Linked DNA regions of Homo sapiens: all the other regions are linked to region 1. Evidence: promoter capture Hi-C in human tissues and cell types (Jung and others, 2019). All regions are on one chromosome and are shown on one strand. The core of a region is centred on a gene start or on the middle of the fragment in contact, and the rest is flanking DNA. Distances in the headings are between cores, read along the strand shown. Region 1 holds the start of SPATA2 (spermatogenesis associated 2). Region 2 overlaps KCNB1 (potassium voltage-gated channel subfamily B member 1). Region 3 has its middle 15 kb from the start of KCNB1. Region 4 overlaps B4GALT5 (beta-1,4-galactosyltransferase 5).

What was found. Contacts are between HindIII fragments. The study calls those that stand out against the background at their distance.
Region 2: a contact is called between a fragment that was not itself captured here and the fragment with the promoter of SPATA2 in region 1, in 1 of the 25 tissues and cell types used here (lymphoblastoid cells).
Region 3: a fragment that was not itself captured here is called in contact with the fragment with the promoter of SPATA2 in region 1 in 1 of the 25 tissues and cell types used here (lymphoblastoid cells).
Region 4: a contact is called between a fragment that was not itself captured here and the fragment with the promoter of SPATA2 in region 1, in 1 of the 25 tissues and cell types used here (dorsolateral prefrontal cortex).

Annotation. Positions count from the first base shown.
Region 1 is chr20:49,912,954-49,918,166 of GRCh38, forward strand. SPATA2 (spermatogenesis associated 2) reads right to left here and starts at 2,576. Exons shown (of 3, transcript NM_006038.4): 1 at 2,427-2,576. It overlaps LOC105372653 (a long non-coding RNA gene), which reads left to right and starts at 2,869. Exons shown (of 3, transcript NR_134564.1): 1 at 2,869-3,132. RefSeq lists enhancers at 1,594-1,763, 2,558-2,617 and a silencer at 2,278-2,527. The HindIII fragment of the contact is 5,477 bases long and covers 682-5,213 here.
Region 2 is chr20:49,423,251-49,428,463 of GRCh38, forward strand. All of the region lies in intron 1 of KCNB1 (potassium voltage-gated channel subfamily B member 1), which reads right to left. LOC105372649 (a long non-coding RNA gene) reads left to right here. Exons shown (of 4, transcript XR_001754659.2): 3 at 3,402-3,517. Among named protein-coding and RNA genes, the nearest start is that of KCNB1, 57 kb to the right of the region's middle. RefSeq lists enhancers at 1,006-1,529, 1,530-2,053. The HindIII fragment of the contact is 6,547 bases long and covers 1-5,213 here.
Region 3 is chr20:49,495,243-49,500,455 of GRCh38, forward strand. No RefSeq gene overlaps it. Among named protein-coding and RNA genes, the nearest start is that of KCNB1, 15 kb to the left of the region's middle. The HindIII fragment of the contact is 4,348 bases long and covers 854-5,201 here.
Region 4 is chr20:49,635,225-49,640,437 of GRCh38, forward strand. B4GALT5 (beta-1,4-galactosyltransferase 5) reads right to left here. Exons shown (of 9, transcript NM_004776.4): 7 at 4,454-4,576; 8 at 2,117-2,218; 9 at 1-1,235. The coding sequence ends at 1,088. Among named protein-coding and RNA genes, the nearest start is that of PTGIS, 70 kb to the left of the region's middle. RefSeq lists an enhancer at 1,280-1,780. The HindIII fragment of the contact is 3,603 bases long and covers 1,022-4,624 here.

The sequences.
Region 1 (5,213 bases), core at 1,326-3,825:
AAAAAATTAGGTGGGTGTGGTGACACCCACCTGTAGTCTTAGCTACTTGGGAGTCTGAGGTGGGGGGATCCACTGAGCCCAGGAGTTTGAGGCTGCAGTGAGCTATGATGGCACCACTGCACTCCGGCCTGGGTGACAGAGCAAGACCTTGTCTCAATCAGTCAATAAGGAAAGGAAAGAAAGAGACTAACAATTACTGAGGTTCTACTATGTGCTAAGCATTGGGCTTCCCACTTTACCTACATCATCCCATTTAATCCTCACAACTCTATAAGGAAAACAGGCTCTTCCCATTAAAACAACCTGCCCAACAGAGTTTGAAAGGGTCAGAGCTGGAATCTGAACTCTTGCTGGGAGGCCCTTGATGCCTGGGCTTTCTCCAATTTACCTCACTCATTTATTGTTACATCAGTACCATTTACCAAGGGATTACTGTGTGGCATCCCTCTGCTAACTGCTCTGTGAAAACCAATGAAATCCACAGGATAGATCCAAGGTTAAAGAGGAAACTGAGGCTCGGAGAGGCCAACTCACTTACCCTAAGTCGTAAGGCTAGGAAGAAGTGGATCTGAGCTCTGAACCTAGGTCTAACGCCAAAACTCCGACTCTTGCAAAGCCATCCTGCTGCATCTGCTGGACAGCTCTACTCGAAAGTGTTTGGCTAAGTTAGAATGCCTTATGGCGGCGCGAGCAGAGTTGAGTTACAAAAATTCCTGTAGTAGCAAAATTCCCATCTTCCCACACCGAATGGGGCTAGGAGAGCTAATCTCTATATGATGTAAGCTCAAGGGCCAAGGAAAGAGGCTGGTCAGAGACATCGGCCAGTGATGAAGCAGCTGACATCATCCCTGCTGAAAACATTTTCTGAGAATACAAGATGCCTTGTAGCTGGTCATAGCTGGTGTTTTTTCTGAGCACAGAGCCAGCAATTCATTCCCAGCACTCTGCAAGAACAACAAAATACGCTCTCTGCAAAAACATCGTGGTTACAGGAGACCGAGACAGCCCAGCGACAGAAGCTGCTAATTTCTCCAAGCAACCCAAGGATTGGAACGCCAAGCCGTGCCAGTCTGGTGGAAAAAAAAAAAAAAAAAAACCCAAAAAACAAAAAAACAGCACTGTGAATATCCTGAACACAGAGACAGGCAGGTGCCCAGAGTCAACGGCTCCAGTCAGCACCTCCTGCACCCACAATCTAGGTACCTTCTTGAAAAGCAAGTCAATGGAAAAAGAGATATTGCACAGTCAGGGAGCCAGTGGCTTCTTTAGTTATTTTTTGAACATCTAAGAGGAAAGCTGTATCTGTTTAGAGTCCCACTGCATGGAAGTGAAGTGATTCCGAGTAGCTAAGCATTAGCTTGGCTTTACCTCAGCTGGCCCATTCAAGCAGAAATGTTCCCCAAGCAGCATTTGAAGGCGCCCCCTCTCTGCACAGGCAGACCTATTTTGGTCTGTGCACTGCCCCTGTCCACAGGTTTACACATCCCTGGTCTAGCTCCATCAGCCTCCAAACAGGAGACGGGGAAGTCAGTTCAACCCCCTCCACCTCCCCACCCACACCAATGCACTCGTTCCAAGCAAGAGGCTCCGAGAAACATCCAAGGCACCTTCCACTGGCTGTGAAACACCAGAAGGTCCCCACACTCCTACTAGATTCCAAAGAAATTCACACAGAGTCCTTCCAAACCTCTGAAAATAACCTCAGCGGTGCTGAAAGAAGCTTCCCTAGTGGCAGCTGCCTCTCTCGGAGAAGCTCTGAAGGAAGCTGTTTCCCTCCCTGCAGGGGACAGAAGCTGGCGGCTGCTAAGTCCCAGCTCGGTCATTCCTACAGCCTCGGGGGGCCACGTCAGTTGTGAAAAACAGCCCAGTCTCAAATTCTGGCCCCCCCTACGGCTTCGTGAATTGAATGAAGTAACAGGAACTATCACTTATTGGACGCCTGCTGTATGCCAGAGGCCCTGCATGATCTCATTCCATCTCCACTCCAGCCCTAGCAACCAGGTTCAATCACTTAAATAGGCAACTGAGGCTCTTAAGATGAAGTGACTTATCCAAGGTCACACAGTGAGTACAAACCCAGGTGTGCCGCCAGAGCCTGAACTGGGAACCCCTGCGCGGTAACTGCCTCGTGGCGAAATCGGGGTGTCCTTCTGTTTGGCCAGTCGCCGAAGAGGGGTGTTCCTCTTGGGCGGCCCTGAGCCACCCTCGGCGGGTCCCAGGAGCCTGCGAGGCAGCTCCCGGGAGAATGGGGGTCCTGAGGATAGGCTGGGGGTCCCGGGAGCGCCGAAACAGCGGGCCCACCTGTAGTCCTGCCTGCCGTGAGGGTACCCCGCTCCCGGGCCAGCCGAGCCCTGCCGCTGTCTGGCGCCCCCTCCGCCTGGGGAAGCCCCGAAGGCAGTTTCCGCCCGCGGCCGCCCGTCACTCACCCTGACACTGCCGCCGAGGACGGCCCGGCCGAGGGAAGCAAGCGAGAGGCGCGGCTGCCGCCGGAGCCGGGCCCCGTCGGGCTCTAGCCTCTCCGGCCGGCTGCAGGGGTACTGAGACCAGTACCCGGGGGCCAGCAGCGACCCGGAAACACTCGGCCCGGAAATGATGTCACCATGAGGCGGGCCCGAAGAGAGGGTGGACCACGGCTGCGCGCTGGCTCCGGGAAGCGGTCGATGCCCGCGGCCGACGGAGACTACAACCCAGAGGCGGAGGACAAAGCGGAAGGCCGAAGAGCGAGGACGAAACCGGCGGAACCGCACTTTGGAGCCTAACGAGCCATCGCTGCGTCTGAGACTGGGACCCGGAAGTAAACAGGCCGGACGTGACGCAAGCCGCTCGGCCTAGGGATGGTGGCTGGCCGGGTTGTCATGGAAACCGCTCAGGAGCAGGGAGCTGGGAGCTATGAGTGCTGACTGCGTGAACTCGGCCTCCACTTCCCGGACCTGCCACTTATCATGATCCACGAGCTGTACTCATGACTCCGCACAAGCAAGCAGGGGCTGACGGTCGGATCCCTCGCCCCCATTTTACGGACAGAAGTACCGAGGCTCAAAGAGAGCCAGTGAGATGCTGAAATCACGCGTGATTGGAATCCAGCCTTGCTAGGGCTGCGGGTGTTACGGGCCGTGGGCGGCGGTTAAGAGCGTGGGTTCTATTTTTAGTTTTGCCACTTACTAGCTGTGTGACCTTGGACAAGTTACCTAACCTCTCTGAGCCTCAGCTTTCTAACCTGTAATATTAAATAATAAAGCCAGGCGTGGTGGCACGCGACTGTAGTCCCAGCTAGTCGGGAGGCTGAGGCGAGAGGATGGCTTGCTCCCAGGTGTTCGAGACCAACCTGGGCAACATAACGAGGCCACGTCTCTTAAAAAAAAAAAAAAAAAAAAAAAAAAAAAAAAGCCGGGCACGGCGGCTCACGCCTGTAATCCCAGCACTTTCGGATAAACTATATATATATATAATCTGACATCCCCACCAGACCCTGAGCTTCTTATTCATCTATTTCCCCCCGAGCTCTGCACATGTCTGATGAGGAGGCACACAACAGATGTTCATTGATTGTAGGATTCTCACTCTGAGTCTTGGTGACCCCAGCTAAAACCGGTGGGGCTTGTGTGATGAGTCAGTGACACAATACTGGGAAACGTTTGGAGAACCAGCAATCTGCTGCTGTCCAAACAGTAGCATTACTGTGTTTACCTGTCGTTGCCTGAGCACCGCTCAAAGTCCCTGTGTTCTTTATCAGCTCATGTTTAAGCTCCTCTCTTAATTATCTGCAATGTGATGATGTTCACAGGAATTCCATCTGAGACAAACTGTCCCACCTTAAGTCTGCCTCTTACAGCAACTCAGCACTCTGGTTTGGTAGCTCTTACAATATTGCATTTTCACGTGGGGCTGCTTAAAAAAGTCCCCTCCAGCTCTGTGGGTCTATGACAGGCAAAAGAGAAACAAAGATTTTGAAGAAGGGCTTTACCAGTAGGAAACCCTGGTCATCATCTACTATCAGAAAAGACCCAAAGTCTCCAAAGACAGTCACATTTCTCAGTTTTTTTTTTTTTTTTTTTTTTTTTTGAGACGGAGTCTCGCTCTGTCACCCAGGCTGGAGTGCAGTGGCACAATCTCAGCTCACTGCAAGCTCCGCCTCCTGGGTTCACGCCATTTTCCTGCCTCAGCCTCCGGAGTAGCTGGGACTACCGGCACGCGCCAACACGCCTGGCTAATTTTTTGTATTTTTAGTAGAGATGGGGTTTCACCAAGGTGGTCAGGATGGTCTCCATCTCTTGACCTCGTGATCCGCCCACCTCGGCCTCCCAAAGTGCTGGGATTACAGGCCTGAGCCACTGTGTCCGGCCATGTTTCTCATCTTTTAAACACAGTTGAAGGCTTGTGATTTCTCTACTTGGTGATGTAGAAATGACAGGAGCGTCCTTTCCCGACTTTATTATATAATGATTACCAGATTATGTAAGGGTCACGTGACAATGATTAGGCACTTCTACTTCCGAAGAGCCAACAACACGAACAATCTACCTACCTCTTTCTATTTTTTAGTTTTTTTTTCCATCACCAAAGTAATACATGATTCCAACAATACAGAGGAGTATAGAACAAAAAGCAAAACAGAAAAGCTACCCCATGACCCAGCAATTGGATTTCTCAAAATCTGCTAGAGAAACATACACTGTGCCCAAAGAGACCTCTTGCATCATTGTTTCTAATGCAAAAGCAATAATAGGAAATATTTAAATCTCCATCACTGGGGTAATGGTATATCCATACTAACAAATACTGTGGATCACTTAAAAAGGGTGATGCATGGCCAGGCGCGGTGGCTCACGCCTGTAATCCCAGCACTTTGGGAGGCCGAGGTGGGCAAATCACGAGGTCAAGAGGCCGAGACCATCCTGGCTAACACAGTGAAACCCTGTCTCTACTAAAAATACAAAAATTAGCCGGGTGTGGTAGCAGGCGCAGTAGCGGGTGCCTGTAGTCCCAGCTACTCGGGAGGCTGAGGCAGGAGAATGGCATGAACCTGGGAGGCAGAGGTTGCAGTGAACCGAGATGGCACCACTGCACTCCAGCCTGGGCTACAGAGTGAGACTCTGTCTCAAAAAAACAAAACAAAAAAAGTCAACTGGGGACAGGAACACAGATACAGATATCTGTCTTTCATTCCACAAACACACATTTATGTGATCTGTATTAATATCTTTCTCCCCCAG
Region 2 (5,213 bases), core at 1,374-3,873, 490 kb before region 1:
CTGTATGATGCCATTTACGTGAAATGTCCCAAAGAGACAAATCCATAGAGAAAGAAAGCAGCTTGGTGGTTGCCTGGGCCTGGGTGAAAGGGGTGTGGGGAGTGAATGCAAATTGGCATGGGGTTTCTTTTGGAAATGTTCTGAAATTGGATTGTAGTGATGGCTGCACAATGCTGTAAATTTACTAAAAATTATTGAATTGCACACTTAAAATGAATGAATTTTATGGTATAAAGTTCCATAAGGCTGTTTAAAATTTTTTATGGTATAAAGCTATTTAAAAAAAAAAAAAGAACAGAGGGGAGTCAGAGGGAGGGGACAAGGGGTGGAGGGTGGAGTTGTTAGAGCTTCATGGGGCATAGGAGATAAATGGATATGTACTGGCTGGAAAGGATAGAAGCTGTGATTTTCTTAGTCACCTAACTGGGGAAATCCCAGAACAGGAGGCCTCTGAGTTCCTACTAGCTGACAAGTGATAAAAGCTGAGAGTAATAATGACAAGTGCTAACACTGATTAAGTGCCAGGCACATGCCAGGCAACTATACAGAGCATGTTACAGGTATGAACCCATCTGCTCCTCCAAGAAGCCCTTTGAAGTGGTATTGGGAGATAATTCTCCATGGGTCTCTCCAAGGTCTGCATGTCTTCAGCTCAAAAGACACTGAGACCTTTGTTCTAGACTATCATCTCAAGGACATCTGTGTAGCAAACACACTTGGAGGACAGAGACAATATCTCTCTCTGGAGCAGAAAGAAGAGGATAGAGTTGTTTCCCAACCAGTACAATAATGTCTCTATCTGAGGCAAAGGCTAGACAGGTTTGGCAATAGCCCCTTTATAAGATTGCAGGTTTCCTAAGCTCTGGGATCCTCCATTGAGACACAGATCTGCTGCTGTGTGTGCAGAATCCATTTGGGTTGTTTTCATTGCTCTCATGGAACTTGGGAGACAATTAGAACTGACGCAAATATGAAGCTTGTGCTGCTTGCTATACTGTGACTAATAAAGTCCTTTGTCTCTGACCTGGGATCTCGTGTCTTCTGCCGTCATGTATGGCATTGTGGCAGGCTAACTCATTAGCTTGTGAGCAGTGCAAAATCTCGGACCCTTCGTAGTTCTTCCGTCATACTCACATCACCCCTGTTTTACAGATGAGGACTTTGAGGCCCAGAGAATTGAAGCTTCTTGTTCAAGATCACACAGCTAACAAGTAACAAAGCTAGGACTGTTACCCAGACCGATTGGGAAAGGAAGGAGAGATGAGTAGGGGATTGGAGAAGAGAACCGCTGGAAATGACAGGAGCTGAAGGCCCCAAAGGTACACAGAAGGTCATGCCTCTCAGCTTCCCAAACCCACACACCCCCAGATGCTGCCTGTCCCTACATCCGGCTGCTGGGGCTGAGCAGCCAATTTGGGACGACCGTGATATATTTAACGGTGAGTCATGCTCTCCCCCAGCAATCAGCAGTGGCAGGCTCGGGAGGATGCAGGGAGCATCTCTGGAAATCCGTGCCTGAGGGTCGCCATGACAACGCCATCTGAGTCGCTTGCCAGCAGCTGGGATGCCAGTGCCTGAACCAAGGCACAAAATAGTCTCACAGGCTGAGTGCGGCCGAGGACAGGAGCAGGCCCCCTGCACGGCATCCCCAATGGGTTTGCCAGGGATTGATGGGAGGGATGTGAGGACTTGGTGACAAGGGAGATTCATGGGCTCACTGTCCAGGTCACAGTACTCTATGGAAGCCTGGGGTCCCTGGCTGGTGGGAATGAGCACACTTGGCGTGATGGGTATTTTGGTGAGCACCATCTCTTCCTGCCTTGGTTCTTCTTGGTTTGTCTGTCTCATAGTTGCTCTCCCAGAGGCCCTGCCCAATTTGAGGCTTCTATCCAAGTGTCACAACCTCTGAAGACTGACAGCAACTTGGGAAGGTAACCAAGATCATCTTCCAGGATAATTCTGAAGACTTCAGAACCTAGGGCGAATCAGCCACACCCACACACTAACACCAAATACGAATATCCCATGAAAGCAGCTTGGAATCCATTCATTCATTCATAAATCCATTCATCACCTTGTCCTCTCAGTTGTTCATTTTAATTAGAACCTGGGTCCTACAGGCCCTATGTAGAAGTGGATTTGGTTATCCCGTCCTCATCCCCTTTCACTCCCCCTCTCTTATTCTACTCTAGCTCACTAGTCTTACTGCTGTTCCTCAAACATACAGTTGCTTTTCTGCCTCAGAGCCTTTGCACTTGCTCCTCCATCTGCCTGGAAAGCTCTTCCCCCAGAAGGGAAGCTCTCCCTTTAGGTTTCTGCTCATATGTCACCTTCTCAGAGACACACTACCAAGACCACCCTAGGAGAAAGCACCTAATTCAGCCTCAGTGATAAGGCCAAATATATATATATATATATATTATGTATAATATGACATATATCTGTGACTTAGTTTCCCCCATCCGTACGAAGCAAAGAGAGACAAGCTGAAAATTGGTGGCCTGTAAGTTGAATCTAACTCACAGACCTGTTTTGTTTGGTTTACATAGTGTTTCAAGAACTGAGCAAGTTGCTAACAGTTATAAAGTTGAGAGATTTTGTTTTAGAATGCAAATTTTCAATTTATCTCGAAAAACTAAGGTTGGGTGTGGTGGCTCATGCCTGTAATCCTAGCACTCTGAGAGGCTGAGGAGGGTGGATCACTTGAGCCCAAGGAGTTTGAGACCAGCCTGGCCAACAGGACAAAACCTCGTCTCTACAAAAAATACAAAAATTAGCTGTGTGTGGGGGCATGTACCTGTAGTCCCAGCTACTTGGAAGGCTGAGGTGGGAGGATCACTTGAGGCTGGGAGGTTGAAGCTGCAGTGAGCCATGATCATGCTACTGCACTCCATCCTGGGAGACAGAGTGAGACCCTGTCTCAAAAAAAAAAAAAAAAAAAAAAGAAAAGAAAAGAAAACAAAGAAAAATATTAAGCTGTGCATTCTGCATCTGTAAAAGCAACTGGCTGAGGCATGAGCATTCCAGTGCCAAAGGCCCTATGTGGACCTCTTCATTCATTTATGTGGCCATGTTCTACCTATGGGAGTCTTTGGGCTTGCAGCCCAAGTCTCTAATCCGAGGTCTCTAAGGGTCTTTGGTTTGGGATGGAAAGAGTGTGGCATAGTGGTTAAGAGTCAGGCCGATGGGGCTGCAATCCTCACTCACTTCAGTGTTCACAGCTTCAGTTTCCTCACATGTAGTATGGAATCTCAGAGAGTTAATGTGCGAACTGAACAAAACAATGTACCTGGAAAAATGCTTAACACAGAGCCTAGGAAATAGAACACAATAAGTGGAAACTTAAAAAAGAGCTTTTTCTGGCCTTTAATGACAGTCCATTCCTTGATCTGACTCACTAGGTCTCTTCGATCAGAAATTTGGGAGACAAGGAAGGGCTGTTTTGCTGCAATTCACTTGATGTCAAAGCAGGAAAGACCTCGGACAAAGCTTCAAGTCTAACCTTTTTTGTTCTCGGGTGAGTAAACCAAGACCAGAGGATGAGTCTTGCCCAGAAGAGTTTCTAACCATTCTTCCCCCAGGTATTTGTTTCCCGGTGAAATTTGCTTAAAGTTGGAATTGGCTGAGTGTGGGCCAGAGCTATGGGCATTGTTGTGAACACTTGCTTTTAACTGCCCAGTATCTACTTGCTCTTTATCTGTAACAGCTCCCTGATTTTTCCCTGGCACCATCCCTCTTCTGATCCCCAGGAAATGGCTCCAGGTATGGGCATGTGGTTCATGACCACAGTGGTTGGCTCAGAGATGGCCATATGATGCAATCCAGGCCAATGCATGTCAACCACAGAGCTCTTAGGAACTACTGGTACCCACTGGAGCTGCTGGGCTGGTTAGATACAAGCCTGGGGCTGCTGAGAGCCATTTTTGCTATGACTTGGGGAGCTGCCTGCGAGGATGCCAACACAAAGGAAAAAAGGTCCAGGTGATGGAGGAAAACAGAAACCTTAGAACATAATTTGAGCAACTTGATTCAGCTGAGCCTGAAGGCGTGTACCCCTGGGCTTTTCAGTTACATAAGCCAATCAGTCCCTTCTGCCTTCCTCTTTTTTTGCTACGATCAGTTAGAATCAAGATTCTGGATTCATCCAGGCATGGTAGGTGAAGGTGTTGGGTAAGCAAAGGCCCAGAAGCAGGAAAATGCAGAACAAGTTCTGGGATTTCCAATGAATAACCTGCAGTGGGAAGAGGCCAGTAAACTCACTTAAAGCCAGAACCTGGGGAGCTTTGAATGCCTTGCTAAGTCACTTTGACTTTATCCTAAGGGTAACAGGGAGCCATGGGAAAGGACCTGCCAGAGTTGGCAATGGTGTGGGGCAGTGGGAGTGAGGATTATTCTGGATATTAAGTCTGGTTCAGGGTTCTCCTGGGATCCAACTCCAGCCCAGAGTGCATGCAGTGGTGAGAGAGGGTGTCTTCCCTCAGCACCCGCAGCTTCCAGTCCCTCCTGACTGTCTTATAATAACAGTGTTTTCAATGCAGACCTTCTGGGTTCCCTGCCGCGAATCACTCAGCCACCCTTCCAGGGAGAAAACAAAAAGCAGTGTTTTTCCGTGTCTATTTTAGGCTGCTGCCTACATCTTTGTTCTTCGTGAGGAACACACACTCCCGGGGGGCCCTTTTCTCAGCTGTGGCCCAGCAGTCGGGTCTGGACCACCAGGCTGGGTTCCGTTATGGGAAAGAACCAGCAGATGTAATGGAATCATGCCAATTAGGCCAGGAGCTGCGTGGGGATGATGTTATCATTAAGTTCCAGAAGACGTGGAGGTGAGGGGGAAGGTAGCTCATTCCCGTCCACATGGCTATCCCAGACGGACTGCCTTTTTTGATCTGTCCCCTTCGACTATCCTGAGCAGCTAGGAAGAGCCCACCCTTGCTATCCCCTGAGGGACAGAATTTAGAAGTCTGCATTGTATGAGACACTTGTGCTCATTTTACTGTTGGGCTGAAAGCAGAAGTAGAAATTCTATGGCAAATGGGTGGATCCAGCCCACCCATTTTACAGATGGTAAAACTGAGGCCTGAAGAGGAAGCATAGTTTGTTCAGGTTTATAGAACATTTGGTGGCAATCTATGACCAAAAAGACCAGAACATAAAATCTCAGAGGGCATGTACCTTATCTGTCTTGGTCAACATCGTGTCCCATCACAAAACAT
Region 3 (5,213 bases), core at 1,778-4,277, 420 kb before region 1:
CCCTGCCCAGACAAAGCACCAGCAGCCTGAGGGATTTTTCCATCAGCTTGGACTCCAGTCTTCTCACCCATCTCTCTTTTGTCACACCCCAAAATAATAATCATAATCATAATTAAAAACAGGATAATGGTGGAATCTTCCTCTCAGGGTTGCTGAAAGAAGTAAAAAGATAATGCAAATAAAGTGTTTCACACCTTGCCTAAAAGTAGTAAGTACTCATTAAGGGAAGAGTAGTAGCAATGCTAACAATGACAATATCAGCTAACATTGATTGAGCACTTCCTGTATACCAGGCCCTGTTCTAAATGCTTTGCATGCGTCTGATCTCATTTAAGATTCTTTCCAGCTCTTTCACTCTCAGGCTGAATATTCTGATATAAACAAGACCTATTAAATGTTAGATGATACTTGAGTGAACAGATGTCTGATTCTAGTGCCTGTTCTATTTTCCCCTAGCCTGATTGTCTTTATTAAGCCCTGGGTTTCCTGGCCCAAGTTCCTGGTAAGTGGATGAACTTGGTTTTCTTTTCTTTCTTCATTTTCATTTTCTAAATTAAATAAAATTTGTTTTAGAGTTGGAGTCTATGTTGCCCAGGCTGGCCTTGCACTCTTGGGTTCAAATGGTCCTCCCACCTCTGCCTCTCAAGTATCTGGAATTATAGGCACATACCCAGTGTGCCTGACTGAGCCTGGTTTTCTGACCAACCCAAACATTTACCCATCTCTCCTTCCTTTCTTTTGCCTATCACCTATCCATCAACCTAATCATCCCCTCATCCATCTATATACTCAGCAACCAAATTATTCAACTACATACCCACCCATCCATCTACCCACTCACTCATCTATTCGTTCACTCACCCACTTACTCATCCATCTTTCTTTCCATTCATTCATATATTCTATCCATTATCCATCTTGCTACCTTCTCATCCACCTACTTATCCATTTATCCATCTATCCACCCATCCGTACACCATCTGTCTTTCCACTCATCCATCTATCTGCCCATTCACCCACCCACACAACTACTCCCTCATCCACCCCAAATATTCATGCATCTATCCACCACTCACTCGCCAGTCATCCATCCGTCCACCCTTCTAATCTATCCATGTATCTATCTGCCCACCCAGCCATCTCAACCCATCTACCACCTAACATTTGCAGTGATGCTCTGTGCTAATCCCTAGCTTGTTGTTTTGGGCTCCCTCCCTGGGAGGAAAGGTGAGTGCCATCAGAGGGTCCCCACAGAGGAAGACAGATAAACCAGTGAGCCTCTTTGTGGCCTGGACCTTCAAAGCCACTGACTTCCAGGGTCTGTGGCCAAACAATGATGAAATGCACATGGAAAATGAGAAGCCCTGCAATTACATGGAAAGAGACAGAGGCTCAGCCCTCCCAATGTTACAGCTGAATGCAGCATTCCAGGCATCCCTACCAAGCCACTCCACCATAGGGTGGAGATGGATGGAGGCACATGCTTCCAGCAGAGCAATTAGAGGTAAACTAATATCTCTTTCCCACAGAGGAGCCTGGGAACTCCAAGACGCAATGGAAAGGAGGCGAGTCAGCAAAAGGAGGAAATCAAAGCCACAGAGATCAAGAGCTAATTAACTGATCCTCCTAAGATAATGTTTCATTAAAATCCAGTTCTTCTGCCCTGTGGGGACTGATATCTCTCCTACTGCCTCTCCATTGCCCTTTTCCACCCATTCCTGATCTCATCTGCCTCCGCTCTGATCTTTCCCCAAGTCTTCTCCCTCCTCCAATCCAACCTCCCCCCAGCTACTAGGGTAGACTTTTAAAGGCACAAGTCTGACCATGTCACTCCCTATTTATAAGTCTTCACCACTCATTGCCTGAGACAAAGGGCAAACTCCCAAGATAAGGCAAAGGCCGTTCATTCATTTAACACAGATTTCCTCAGTGCCTCTCCTCTCTCACAAGCTTGGGGATGGTAGGACACAGAAACAAGTTTCTGACCCTTGCCCTGTTTCTCCAGCTTCTTTACCCACCACTCCTTTCCACATTCCTGCATTTCAGCAAAAACTTTCCAACCTCCGGCTTAGTGATAGCCAGTCCCTAGGGAAACTGTTGTTAGTATCCATGCTTTGCTCAGCTCACTTCCACATTGACTCTGGGCTTGGCCTTGTGACTTGCATTTACCAGTGGAATGTGGTGGCAGTAATGCCAGTTCCAGGCCTAAGCCTTGAAAGGGTCGGGAAGCTTCTGCTTTTGTGCTCTTGGGAGCTCTGAACCACTGTGTAGGCAGCCAGGCTACCCTGCTGGAAGGGACCATGTGGAAAAACCACATGGAAAGTGAGAAGCCCTGCAATTACATGGAAAGAGACCAGAGGCTCAGCCCTCCCAATGTTACAGCTGAATGCAGCCTTCCAGCCATACCTACCAAGGCACCAGGCATATGAATGAAGTCGTCGTGGACGTCCCAGCCTCACCTAACATCTGACTGCAGCTGCATGAGAGACCCCCAAGTGAGAGCAGCAGCAGAACCATCCAACTATAAGCCCCATTCTCTTTCTATTAGTTCTTATGAGAGCTATTCATTCTCATGAGCTTTTTAGAAAGTGCCAACCTGGCTGGGCACTGTGGTTCACGCCTGTAATCCCAGCACTTTGGGAGGCTAAGATTGGTGGATCACCTGAGGTCAGGAGTTTGAGACCAGCCTGACCAACATGGTGAAACCCCGTCTCTACTAAAAAAATTACAAAAATTAGCCAAGCGTGTTGGCAGGCACCTGTAATTCCAGCTACTCAGGAGGCTGAGGCAGGAGAATTGCTTGAACCCAGGAGGTGGAGGTTGCAGTGAGCCAAGATCATGCTGCTAGACTCCAGCCTGGGCAACAGAGTGAGATTCCATCTCAAAACACAAACCAAAAGCGCCAATCCACAAAGACATGAGAAATAATAAAATAGTTTTGTGTTAAGTCACTACATCTTGGAGTTGTTTGTTACACAGCACGAGATATCTGATACAGAGGCCTTGCTCCTGCTATTTCCACAGCTTAGAATGTTTCTCCAACCCCAGCCATCTTCTTTACCCCACATGGTGAACTCCTATTCACCTTTCAGAGCCCATATTCAGCATCACCTTCCCTGCCTCCCATAGTCTGAGTTAATGTCTCTTTCCTCTGGGAAACTGTATGAGACTAACCTACAATACTTATTTTTCTGTTTCTTCCGCTGGCTATGAATGACAATATTTACTCATGTAATGCTCACAAGAACCCTATGAGGGAGACGGTATTATTATCCATTATCCTATTTTACAGGTGAATAAGCTGGGGCACAGAGAAATGCCCCCAAATCACCCTGGTATTAAGTGGCTCAGCAGAGATTTAAGCCCACTCAGAACCCAAGCTCTTGTCCACTGTGGCTTCTTAGTAAAGTATAAAAAAGGTATGACATTTATTGGTCTCATTTAACACAAAATCCAGAAGTAGGTGATGCCAGGACCTGTCTCAGCAACAGCCTAGCTATCTCAGGGTCCTTGTTTGATTTCTGTGAGAGTCTCTTGTCCACATCGTCACAAAACGGCTGCCATGCTCAGCCTCTCACATGACAACTCCCAGAGAGGGAGGAAGAAGGAACATCTCCCATATTTCAGAAGCTCCCCACTGATTTTCCCAGCCATCTCATTGGTCAGTACTGGATCACATGACCACCACTAGCCCAGTTACTGGCAAGGGGAACCTGATATCCATGTTTGGCTTGGCCCTGTCTTGATTTGGAGGTTGGGCCCATTTTCTTGAGCACAAGGCTGCCTAATATCTGAAGAAAGCCAGGGTTTCTTCTAGTGAGGAAGTTGGCCAATCAATTAGTGTCTCTTCTGCAGTGGTCAGCTCTTAGAACACCTGAAATAAAGTCACATACAGACCCTGTTCATCCCAAGGATCCAGATGTCCCAAAGGTCAATCTCCCAGATTTGCATAATGTGAGTTGTCTTAGTCCATTTGTGTTGCTATAAAGGAATACCTAAGGCTGCATAATTTATAGAGAAAAGAGGCTTATTTGGCTCAATGTTCTGCAGGCTATACAAGATGTGGCACTGGCATCTGCTTCTGGTGAGGGCCTCAGGCTGCTTCCACTCATGCTGAAAGGGGAAGGGCAGCCCGTGTGTGCAGAGACCTCATGGCAAGAGAGGAAGCAAGAAAGAGGCAAGGGAGGCACCGGCTCTTTTCAACAACCAGCTCTTGCAGGAACTACTAGAGTGAGAACTCACTTCTTACCATGGGGAGGGCACCAGGCCTTTCATGAGGGATCAACTCCCATGACCCAAACCCCTCCCATTAGACCACACCTCCAACATTGGGAATCAAATTTCAACATGAGGTTTGCAAAGGTCAAACATCCTAACTATAGCATGGGTGCACCTGCCTTGTCTCTCCCAGGCCACTGTGAAGCTCCACGGAAGGTCCTGGGGCAATAAGATAGTACACTGCCAGCTCTTCCCCAACTCATCACCCTCCCATCCTTGCAGACACACACTCTGAACCATGTCTCAAATGGCCATGACTCCCAAATGCCAGACCAATAACGTGTTTGCATTTTCACTGGTCCATCATGAAATGAATGAGAAAAAACAGGGACAATGGAATGAGATTTGTATAAAGCTAAATTGATTCCATTTAAAGGATGATGGTGATTTACTTTCCTACTTAAACTCTCTCATGGCTTCCCAGGGCACTTAGCATAAAGCCCAGCCTCCTCTTCCTGACAAGGTCTGCTCCCAGAGTGGCTCCTGCCACCCCCTCACTCAGCCACAGCCTTCCTGGGATGCTCTCTTTCTCCAGCACACCAAACCCCTTGCCTCTTTAGAGTTCTTTGGATTTGTAGTCTCTTTCTCCTGGAATGTTCTTCCTCTAGTTCTTTACAAAGCTGCGATCTCTCATCTTGATCTCAACTCCTATCGCCACCTGCCTGGAGACTTTTCCTGACTGCCTCCAAGGCCACAGGCACATCCATCTCCGTGTCAGCATCCATCACCTCCTGCTGTTTGCTTGTCCTCAGCATCTGACACTGTATTTATGCTGATTTGTTTCTTTACTGGATGGCCTCTGCTGCCCAAATGTGAAATCTATGAGGGCAGAGACCTTGCCCGGACTAGTGCAGTCCCTTCCTCCCTGGTCTCCAGCTTCCCAGCCCTCAGCATGCACGGTGAGATGGATCCTCCTAGAATACAAGTTAAACCAT
Region 4 (5,213 bases), core at 1,573-4,072, 280 kb before region 1:
CCCCGCCCCCCGCCCCCCGCCCCGCCATGCTGATGAAAAGACAGAACACGAAGCCTGGAGAGCCAGAGATGTGTGTGCAGCGAGCCCCGAAGGGCCTGCTTTAGGCAGGAAGCAGCCTGCTCTAACAGCAGCCTCCCGCTTAGCGGAGAGTGGGATGAGCACATGCGCGGCCGACAGGGAAGAGTGAATCCAGAGCAGAAGTCAAGGGCAAGACTCGTGGGGGGGGGAAGAAAGGGACAGAAGCCAGCTCCCAGCAATAAAGGTCGGGTTATTTTGTTCTTTTGTGACATGCCCTATATCCACTCCCTCGCCAAAGTGACAGCAATTCGGGAGATGACATTCTTCAACTGCATTTTAACTGAGTTCCTGCACTTGCCAACCAAGTAAGTGGCCTAATACATAAATCCTCAATTTGAATTGGAGCCAGCTAGAAAATTAAATTTTAAAAAGGCATTTTACATGGCTTATTTACAATTATACTTCTTCAAGAAGTGATTGTTATATATTTATGTCTATTTATCTTTCCCAAACACCCTCCCCTCCACCCTCAATCCCCACCCAAAGAAGGTAATTTTTTAAAAAAATGAAACCAAAGAGAACACCAGAGATCTAGAAGAATGGTGTGGAGTTTCATTTGCTCTTCCTAAAACGCAGCTGCCCTGTGGTGGGTTTGCCTCTGCTCTGAAGGCCAAGAGGCTCCAAGGTCATGTGTAGGGACAGGCTCCACGGCAGGACCACGGCAGGACCACGGCAGATCACAGTTCATCATGGGTTCTGGAGACTGCGGCTAAGACAGGATGTGGGGTAGGAGATGGGGAGAGAGCAGCGGGACAGACGTCTGTCTTGTGAAAACAGAAAGCCAGTGCTGACGAAGGAAGTCCCCAAGCTCACTCCCTCAGTTCCAGCGGCTGATCCAGTGAAGGCGTTTGTGCGTGTGCTGTCACATTTTCCCCCTGAACTCTGTGATCCTTCATGAGACACAGTATTTCTGTTCTCTTGCTGTGTAGACCCTCCCCCCTCCAAAAAAAAATCTCATCGGACTGCTTTCTTGGTGGCGGTGGGTAAAGCAAACGTACATTCTCTCCTCTCAGTACTCGTTCACCTGAGCCAGCTCGGGTGTCAGGTTGACAGTTATGTTTTTATACAAGGCGTCGTATGTGATGTTTGCAAAGTAGTTCAGGTTGTTGAGGCCATCCAGCCCTTGCCGTTCTTTTGACTTCCTCAGCAGAGCATACCTGTTTAGGGAGGGAACAGAGAAGAGGTGGCTCTGAGTGAGGATCCATGCCTCTGCAGCCAGAGGATGGAGCAGGGCGTCCCACAGCAGAGGACGCAACCCATGGCAGCACTTCTGCAGCACAAGGTGGGCGCACGGCCAATTCTGCTATGCCAGGCTGAGTGCTGTGGTCAGAAACACCTCCTGTGTTTCATGCCAGGTGCTTCACTTAATTATTTCATTTAATGCTCACGCCAGCCCCTGCTAGCAAATGAGGAAGCCAAGGCTTAATAATGTGAGGTAACTTGCCCAAGGTCAGAGAGTGGGGAAGTGGGAGGTAAAGCATTAAAAATACAACAGATGAGAAAGTTCATACTCTGTATTCAGTGCCATTTTACTCCCATGAAAACAGAATTTCAGCAATTAGAATTGGTTGTCTAGAGCACAGTCTTCCCCACAATTTAGAAAAGACACACACACACACACACACACACACACAAAGAAAGAAAAGGTAACACAGCAACTGCAGCCACCCAGACAGAAGCTCAGGACACCATTCGGAACGGGAGCCTGCGGAAAGGGCGCCACTGCTCTGTCACCTCAGGGACCTTCATCCAAGCTGTTTCTTCCCAAATTCCCCAAAGGCTACTGTGGAGACCACAAGGCTGAAGACATAGGACAAGTGATTTCCTTCGAAGAATCTTACTATTGAAAATGTTCACCAACGGTCTGATCCCCACACTGTTCTGCCTCAGAGTTAGAATACATGCAACAGCTGTCAAACAGCTGTCAGAACAGGGCCTCGGGGTGGGGAGTAGGAGAAGGGGCTGTAATATGCTCTAAGATATCCGGACATGAAAGTATAGGGGATACTTCTAAGAGACAGAGATAAATTCCACCAACCTTCCAAGAAACTGGACTTCTCCTCGATGGTGATGAGGAATGGACTTGTACTTTCCTGTGTCACCCTCTGGCCGGCTCACAGAATAGCCTGCATTCTGTACTCTGTCCAAGACCAAGAGAACAGGCTTTTAGATACAACGGTAATAGCCCAGGAGTGACCAAAGCCTACAAGACATGTTACAAGCTTACCCTGGAAATCACACACAGCAAAAGCTCTCACCCGCTTAACTGACTCATTGTGTCATTTCTTAAAAACTGAGTTAAAACTCAATTTTAACTGAATTAAAGTTTTTATGTGAACGGAAAAAATAGGCTGGGCTAGGTGGCTCGTGCCTGTAATCCCAGCACTTTGGGAGGCCGAGGTGGGCAGATCATTTGAGGTCAGGAGTTCGAGACCAGCCTGGCCAAAATGGTGAAACCCCATCTCTACTTAAAAAAAAAAAAAAAAATTAGCCAGGCGTGGTGGTGCAGGTCTGTAATCCCAGCTACTCAGGAGGCTGAGACAGGAGAATCACTTGAACCCGGGAGGCAAAGGTTGCAGTGAGCAAAATTGCACCAGCTTGGGTAACAGAAAGAAAATCTGTCTCAAAAAAGAAAAGAAAAGTACGGAAAGAAATGGTTACTTCCAGGGAATAAAATAGAATCAAAATGGGGATTAATACTTAGACACTTGTATCATCTAATTTTTTTTTTTTAAGAGACAGGGTCCACTGTGTTGCCCAGGCTGGAGTACAGTGAGGTGATCATGGTTCAGTGCAGCCTCAATCTCCCAGGCTCAATTAGTCCTCCCATCTCAGCCTCCTGAGTAGCTGGGACTACAGGCGTGTGCCACCACAACAGGCTAATTTTTTTTATTTTTTGTAGAGACAAGGTCTCACTGTTGCCCAGACTGGTCTTGAACTCCTGGGCTCAAGTGATCCTCAAGCCTAGGCCTTGTGAAGAGGTGGGATTACAGGTGTGAGCCACAGTGCTCAGCCTATCATTTGAATTTTTATTAGCAAAATAGTCCTTGTAATTAACAACAAACACATACTTTTCAAAAGCCAAGCTACAAAGGAAACAGATACCAGGTAGTATTTTGCATTTGTTCCTTATGAGGTTACTGTTTACTTACTCCATAAAAATATTACTTTATTCCACTCACACACAGGATTGTTCACCCAAGCTTGTACAGTACAAGCCTTATGTGATGGCGCAGCTAAATCTATGTAGACATATCACTAATATTCCACCCTTCAGTTTGGAGTGGTTCCAATGAAATGGGCATTTAGTACAGAGAACACTGGTGAAGTGAAAAGTTTTGTTAGAACCTTTAGCAGGAGGGGCACTTAGTTATAATATGCCTTAAAAACCCTATTTGCATCCATTAAAGGACAGAGCTTAAAAAAAAAAAGAGCCTTAAAATGACTACATTCGCTTATAGGAATTTTTCCTAAATAGGAATAACAGGCAAAAGAATTATCTACTATATCACACTCTAAATAGTGGAAAATGGAAAAGATTCTAAATATACACCAGGAAATAGTTACATAAATTACAGTACATCTATATAACCGAATTAAATGGAGCCACTTAAGATCCTGTTTACAGAGTATTTAATGTTGATATAAAAACAGTAACACCTATTGAGAGCTTATCACATATCAGATATGCCAGAGCTCTATACACATTACATCATTTAATCCTCACAATCCTGAGATTTGTGATTTTAAAAACTGACACACAGAGATTTTAAATTACTGTTCACTTGCCACTTTTTAAACACAAAATAAACTCAATGAAATGGTAACATGTTACTTATTGTTGTGGGTAATTTATTTTTATACTCATTTGTATTTTATAATGAACGTATTATTTATTAGAAGAAAAAATTGCTAAATTATAATTTGTTGATTTTCGCATGTCAAAGGAGAAAAATGAAAATAGCTGCTTTGTTGGGATATACAGTTTGTTTTTTAAGATATTAAGATATTTTTAAATTAAGATTAAAGATATTTTCTAAAAACTTGGATGTGTGTGGTGTGTGTGTGTGTGTGTGTGTATTTTTTAAGACAGGTCTCACTCTGTCACCCAAGCTAGAGTGCAGTGGCACAGCTCTCTGTGGCCTCGAACTCCCGGGCTCAAGTGATCCTCCCACCTCGGCCTTCCAAAGTGCTGGGATTACAGGTGTGAGCCATCACAGCTGGTCAATTTCATTTTTTTCCTTAACCTTTTAAACTGTAGCTACTAGAACATGTTAAATTACACACATGGCTTGCATTATATTCCTATCGGATAGTATTGGTCTGCAGTCTAAGGTAGCATTTCTAGAAGACACCGAAAGAACGGCAGAGGTACCTGTTCCAGAGGTCGTCATCTTCTCCACCCCAACCCCAGAAAGCATTAGGAAAGCCATTGATTTTCCGAAATTGTTCCACTGTTAAGCCACTCACTCCGCCAAAGAACTCGGTATAAGGAAGCCTAGGAGGAGATGTGGGACATCAATCATCTGTGTGTTACAGGGTAACTGTTTTCCCTAGAAGGTTCTCATTTGAGGACTAAAAACAGTGCTCTCTGTGCTCCTGACCTGAACCATATGAATGTATCAAATTAGCAAAATTAATTTTTGCAAACTGATTTTTAATAGCTTTAGTGAGATATAATTGACATACCCATACACAATTGGCCCATTTAGAGTATATCATTCAATGGTTTTAGTTTATTCACTGAATTGTGCAACCATGACCACAATCTATATTAACATGTTTCATCACTGTCCCCCGCAAAGCCTTGCACCCATTAGCAATCACCCCCTGCTCCTCCTATCCTCCTTAGCCCCTTATAACCATTTATCTACTTTCTGTCACTATAGATTTGCTTATTCTGGACATTTCAGACACCTGGAATCATATGATACACAACCTTTGTGTCTGGCTTCTTTAACGTAATGTTTTCGAAGTTCATCCGTGTTTTGGCACGTATCAGTATTTCATTGCTTTCTCCTGCCAAACAGTGCTCCAATTGTATGGATACACACATTTTGTTTATCCATCCATCAGTTGATGGGCATCTAGGTTGCAGCTAATTAGATTTCCTTTTCACATCGCTCACCATCCTT